Linked DNA regions of Homo sapiens: region 2 is linked to region 1. Evidence: promoter capture Hi-C in human tissues and cell types (Jung and others, 2019). All regions are on one chromosome and are shown on one strand. The core of a region is centred on a gene start or on the middle of the fragment in contact, and the rest is flanking DNA. Distances in the headings are between cores, read along the strand shown.

Region 1 (3,310 bases), core at 604-3,103:
ACCTTGCCACTTCCCTGCACTCTGCAGTGTCCTGAGCTAAGGCGGGGTCATATAATGTCAGTTTCTTCCTGGCCTGTTGTCGCCTGGGGTAGGGGCTGTTCCTTTCCTCCTCTGACCCCTGCGGCCCAGCACTGCCCTTGGTGCTCGGCTGGCACAGTGCTTAAGTGTTTGTCGACGGCTCCCAGATGCTAAGGCTGGGTCCCTATCTCACCCCATGGTTTCTTCTCAATAGCCCAGAGCGGGTCTGGTTCCCGCAGGCACTTGGTGGCCCGTGAGTGCCTGATCCACAGTGTGAGCCACATTGTCTGTTTCTCACTTGTCTCTGTTTCTCCCACAGGGAGCCCCATAAGTCTTTGCTGATTGACAGAAGGAGCTGTCAGTCTACCCCAGGAGGCAGGGATATCCCTAAAGGTGAGGACAGGGCCTTCTTCACACTTCTGTCTCCTAAACCTCCCAGAAGCCTGGCAGGAAGGAGAGAGAAAGATGCTTGTTGAAAGGGAATATGTGAGACTACCCAGACAGGTGCAATTCCTAGGTTAAAGGGGCAAGACGCGATGATGTGGCGGTGGAGCAGAAAAGTGGGGTATGGTTGTTTGAGTGTGATTGGGGTTTTCAGGAATGGAATAGGTGGTAAGAATAGGGTTGGGGACTGGAGTGGAATGGGGAGGAACAGGGGCAAGATGCAAGTGTGCTGATGCGGAGTGGGATGGTGTGGGGCTGCCCTCTGTCTCCCCTTCCTCTGACTCTGTCCTGTCGGGCTCCGCAGCCAGCCAGCTTTTAGTTCGAGCCCTCTCCCGGGCGTTACCACCCTCCCTTCGTGGCCGGCGCGCACCTGCAGTGCTAGGCAGCGCGCATCACTGCTCTGCAGCGCGGCGCGCAGGTCCTCCACCAACTCGCGCAAGCTGCTATTCTCCTCCTCCAGCCGCGCAACGCGCTCACAGTCAGGACCGCTGTCGGGGCCAGGCGCGCAGGGCGGGCGGCGGCGGCGGCGCGGACGGCGCAGGCGGATCTGCGTCTCGATGTGCTCGCTGAGAGCGCCGCGGGGCAGCCGGGGCCCCGCACGGGTGCCGAAGTAGCCACAGAGGCGCGCGTGGAACTGGCGGAAGGTGAGCTCCGGCGGCTCGGCGCGCAGCGCCAGGCGCGCCTCTTCATCGGTATCTGAGTCCCCGTCCGTGGCCAACTCAGCGGCCGCATCCCCGGGGGTCACATCTCTGGAGTTCCCGTCACCTGCTGCCTGCCCGGCCGTGGTGGCCCCCTCCGCGCGCAGCCCCAGCACAGCGCAGAGCGCTCGGAAGTCGGCGCGGGGCAGACGGCCGGCGCCGCGGCAGTCCAGGTGGTGGAAGACCTCCTGCAGGTACTGGTCCAGGCCGGTGGCCAGCACCACGATCTCGTTCTCCACGCCGCGGTCCAGCCCGTAGTGGTGCGCCAGGGCGCTCAGCAGCCACTGCGTGCGCCGCGCAGGTCGCCGGTACGGGTCACCTCCCGCGCCCTCCATGCCGGCCTCCGCGCCCGTGCTGACCGGCTCCATCGCTGCGCCGCGCGCCTCGCTCCTCCGGTCCCTCCTCCGGTCCCTTCGCCCCGCCACTTCCAGGGGCGGCCCCAGAGTTTCTCGAAAGGAGGGGCTTAGCGGTCGCGGTCTGGTTGGAGCGGCGCCGGGGACCGTGTCCAGCAGCTGCGCTGGCCTCACAGTGCGTCTGGTTTACCCCAGTTGCTTTGGAGGGGCCTGGGGTAGGGGGTCCAGGAACCCCCGGGACCCCGGCAGCGCCACCAGTGCCCGGTCGGCGTCTGGGTCTGGCTTCTCCGCGTGACTCCCACGCTCTCCTCTCCTCACTCACGGGGCGTTCCTGGCGTCTGCGCTTTTCCTCCCACTCCCGGCCGTCCACTCTCAACTCCCTCCTCCCTCCGCCCCGCCCGCCTGGCGCGGAGAGTTCGCTCCGAGACCTGGGCGAGGGGTTGGCGCGGGATCCGAAGCCCAGGAGGGCCTTGGGGGTGGCGGCCTCGTCCGGTTGCTGGGGATGTGCCCCCACACCCAAGCGTCACTCTTCCCCCTCTTCCCGGAAGGCCTTTCGAGGGTTGCCTGGCAAGCCTGCTCTCGCCGCCCTGTAGCCGTAGGTGCGGAAAAGCCTCCCCTCCGCTTCAATTCAGCTACTGGGTTTCCGAACCCACTTCTTGTGCCACCATAGACCGTGCAAAGAGCCCCAAGTAGTAACTGGGAAAGAGAGGGAAACAGGCTTGGAGAGGCAAGGGGTCTAGGTTAGGGGCACCCCGCTGGTGAGAAGCCCATCTGAGACGAGCCCTGTGCTAACTGCTCTCTCCCGATCCCTGTTGGGGGTGGGGATAGGACTCTCGGGAAAGTGGTGTCTCCCGGCCCTGCCACCTTTGTGCCTGCCGGTGCTGACTTGGCAATGGGATCCGAGTTCCATCTCTTGAGCTGGGGTTAGGTTAACAGGTCGATGATTGGCTGATGTTTTTTTCTGGTGTTTTAGAACACATTTCTGGAAGATGAAGAAAAACCTGCTTCTCTGGTGAGTGCTAGACTGTGTTCCCTTTCTTTTTCACGAGAGGGGTGCAGTGATATTGTGATATTGTCCACCTGTTACCTGCACCGGGAACGGTTATCCAGCCACGGTACCCAGCCATGTTGGAGCAAGAGGCAGACTCTTCAGCTGTTCCTAGCTATGACAGAGACAGAATCTTGCCTTGTGGATAACTCTGTGAGTTTAAATGTAAAATCTTGCCGTTTGAAAAGCGATAGCATTCTGTCTCCTCTGCCACAGTATCCCAGAATCAGCACGTTGTCCATTTGGCAAATTCGTACTTGTTCTTGAAGGCTTTGCCCAGAGTACATATCTGCTGGGAAGGAGTTAGAGGCTTCTCCCCAAGCATTTTGGACATATTCTTTTAGGTTTGTTTTTAATTATAAAAGTAATGGCAATTTGACAAAGTTTTTACATCACGTCCACTTCTTGGCTTCTACCTTCGAAAGCCACTGTGCACAGGATGTTCACTGCATCATTGTTTATTACAGTGAGAAACTGGAGACAACCTGGTGTCCATCAAATCAGCTAGGACTCAGCAAACGAGGATGAGCGGACACAGCAAGCCACAAGCTGATTATGCACAACACTGATGCTTACATAACAAGAACAAAAACACACAAAACAATACTAAGTATTTTCTACTAGGACATGTGTATGTGAGTGCACAGAAGAAGATGGAGGGATTCATAAGTGGATTCAGTGGTTCTTTCTGCAGATGGGAGACACTGCAGTATTTCCCTTTTGTTAAGATGTTCTCATGTGTTTCTTTT
Region 2 (3,310 bases), core at 463-2,962, 1.4 Mb after region 1:
AAGAAATACAAAAATTAGCTGGGCATAGGGGCACACACCTGTAATCTCAGCTACTCAGGAGACTAAGAATCACTTGAACCCATGCAGCAGAGGTTGCAGTGAGCCAAGATCACACCACTGCACTCCAGCCTGGGCAAAGAGTGAGACTGTCTCAAAAAAAAAAAAAAGTCCAGAAAGAGATAGTCCAAAACGTTAACATTCACTGACTGAATCACTGGATTATAGGTGATTTTTATTTTCTTCTTTTAATTGCTGTTTTAAATTTTTATATGTTGATATTTATTACTAGCACAGAACAAGAATGACAAGGCTTTTGTTTTGGTGTCTAAGTAAAAGTGCTCTCTTTGTTGCTCTGTCCACAGGCTCCACAGCTATCGGCCCATCCTAAGGACATGGATACACCTGATGTGTGGGCAATGACCCAGAAGGTCAAATCATTCTACAGCAGACACAATCACAACAAGGCTTCGCTGTACAGGAACCAGCTCCAGGTCCCAGCAGACAGCTGCTCGGTCGGTCTGCTTTCTCCAAAATTGATTACGGCAATGATAATTAAAGTAGCCTAATGAAGGACTTTGTATTGAGGGGAGCAGCAGATCTTGAAGTAGAACTCTCAGATTTGAGATTTAGCTCTGCCACTATGTCATTTAGAGCCACTTTTAAATCTCTGTCAGCCAGCTTCTTTAGCTGTAAAACAGTGATCTAATCATGCCTGCTTTTACAGATTTCATCAGGTTGCTGTGAGGTTAAAAAAAAATCCAAGTGAAAATGACATATGAAGTATAGGCACTTTATGAGTGTTCCCTACTCAAGCACAGTACTGTTGTCTCATGCTCTCTTTCTGTTAATAGCACCTCAATTCTACTCTGGGGGACATTCCTCCTCTCTTTTTGGTCTGGAATGTCCCCTGGCTTCAGGGACAGCTCAACATGGGCCTGGACAGTCAAATTCCATCCCCAAGCTTGGGACTCAGGGAGACCATCCAGTGACTGTTCCTGAAGTGCTGGGAAGGCAGAGCTCCCTTTCTGCGGGGTGCTGAGTGATGGGACGACAGTGTGGAGCTACTGGGCTCTCCAAGCCGGTGCCCAGGACCAGCCTGCCTGAGAACGAAGCCAGCAAGGGAAAGCCGAGCATGACTGATGGGACAGGGCAGGCTCCAGCACGTTGAGGGCGGCACGCCGAGTGCTGGAGCTGGAAGCCTGTTCCTGGACCCCCGTTCTTCAGCCAATAAAGTCCCCTTTTATCAGACAGGCCCGTGAGCCTGTCTGAGTTGGGTATCTAGGACTTGCCAACCCCAAAGATTAAAGTGTTTCTTGCAGAACACTTTAATTTGCTCACTCACTAGGAAAATTAAAACTGCATGCAAGACAATTTCCTTAAGGAGCTTAGAAAATGAAAGGGCTAGAGGGGTCAGTGGGGACAGTCTCGAATGAGTAGGTAACCTGAGAGACTGCTCCTAATCATTAACAATTGTGCATGAATTAACTGGTCAGGCTGTAACTTCACTTGATGCTAGCTGGTGGAGCAGCAATTCGCATTCCATGTTTTTTTCCCTGCTTTGTTGAGGTTGCTCTTTTCACTTGAAATGTCACAGAATCATAATATTTTCAAGCTGCAAAGACTTCAATCTATTATTCCCAGGTCTCATTTTGCAGATGAAGAGACTGAAGCCAACATTAGAAAAGCAGCACACTCAAGGTCACACTGCTCATTATCCACCAAGCAGAAACTCCACCAGCTGTTTTTCCCACTGGGCCCGGGGACCATCATTACAGATGGAGAAGGAAGGCATCAGCTCTACCTGAGGCCCAACACACTAGAAATGGGATGTATGACAAAGTCCTAGTGACAGAATGGACTGGTTTCCTGTCTCACATGTGTCATCAATGTGCTCCCTTGGCAAGAAGCCAGGCCCAGGGCATCAGTGCTCAGGGATACCGACTCCAGATTCGGCTCTGCCACACACAAGCTGTGTGGCCTTGGGCAAAGGTCTGAACCTCCCTTGGCCCAGCTCACCATTTGTCAAGCAAAGAGAATAACTGCCACCTGGCTGAGCTCACAGAATGGTTGTGAAGTCCAAATGAGCTAACTCAAAATTCTATGGAGCCAGGCGTGGTGGCTCACGTCTGCAATCCCAGCACTTTGGGCGGCCGAGACGGGCAGATCACGAGGTCAGGAGTTTGAGACCATCCTGGCCAACATGGGGAAACCCCGTCTCCACTAAAAATACAAAAATTAGCTAGGCATAGTGGTGCACCCCTGTAATCCCAGCTACTTGGGAGGCTGAGGCAGGAGAATCACTTGAACCTGGGAGGCGGAGGTTGCAGTGAGCCAAGACTGTTGCACCATTGTACTCCAGCCTGGGCAACAGAGTGAGACTTCATCTAAAAAAAAAAAAAAAATCTATGGAAAAATGGTGATAAGTACCACATAGAATATGACATTAGTGCTAGTCTCCAGCAAAATCACTGTGCTGAGAGGTGACATGACAGGGCAGAGAGGCTTTGGAGTCTAATAACTTGGGTTTGAATCCTGATTCTTACATTTACTTGCTGGGCTGTAAATTCAAACTCCCTAAGCCTCAGGTTTGCTTATCAGCTAAATGGAAGTAAGAATATATACTTACATTTTTCAGTGGACGTTAAATGAGAACCCACAACCCCTAACATAGTGCTGGGCACATACTGGGTGTTGAATACATTGATTGATGTACTTGTACTTGATCTGAGATTGGCCTGTCTGCAGCATGGTTTTCAGCAGTCCCTGCTACTGCTGCATGGAGTTCAATGTCCCTAATGGCCATGTTAGGATAGCACTTGGCACAGTCAATCTGGACTCTGCAGGACTCCCAACCCAGGCATGCCCTCTCAAGGTTCTTTTGACTCCTCCAACCCCCAAGAGGTGATCCACCTCCTTCTCCCCAAGAACCCCTAGACAGAAGCCTGTGGCTCCGGGGCACAAGAGCAGACAAGAATAGGGGGGTAGGGCACGCCACTGTCCCCTGGGCTGCCTCCTACACCAGCCTGACTATTCGCTGTCAGCCTGCCACCTTAGCCACTTTCTCTTCTGTCATGTCCTAATCATATGCCATCAAGGTGCTGCAAGAAAACAGAAGCAGGGGTCACTAGCCTGATTTCAGGGCCACTGCCAGTACACGGAGATGTCCCCTCTGGGCAAATGAATTAGAAAAAGGTGCTCCTCCCACCCAGCCCATGGCCTGGTTGGCAGGGTGTATGCTGGACTTCAGCTCCAACTCCCATGCTCGGTCAGGAGCCCCGGACAGGGCACCACCAGCATAACCACGTGCACT

Evidence for each region. Contacts are between HindIII fragments. The study calls those that stand out against the background at their distance.
Region 2: a fragment that was not itself captured here is called in contact with the fragment with the promoter of EFCC1 in region 1 in 1 of the 25 tissues and cell types used here (stomach).

Annotation. Positions count from the first base shown.
Region 1 is chr3:128,999,847-129,003,156 of GRCh38, reverse strand. It overlaps EFCC1 (EF-hand and coiled-coil domain containing 1), which reads right to left and starts at 1,853. Exons shown (of 8, transcript NM_001377500.1): 1 at 833-1,853. The coding sequence starts at 1,528. It also overlaps a transcript of CFAP92 not described here. The HindIII fragment of the contact is 14,506 bases long and covers 1-3,310 here.
Region 2 is chr3:127,645,480-127,648,789 of GRCh38, reverse strand. The region is part of intron 2 of PODXL2 (podocalyxin like 2); the gene reads right to left. Among named protein-coding and RNA genes, the nearest start is that of PODXL2, 18 kb to the right of the region's middle. The HindIII fragment of the contact is 3,125 bases long and covers 150-3,274 here.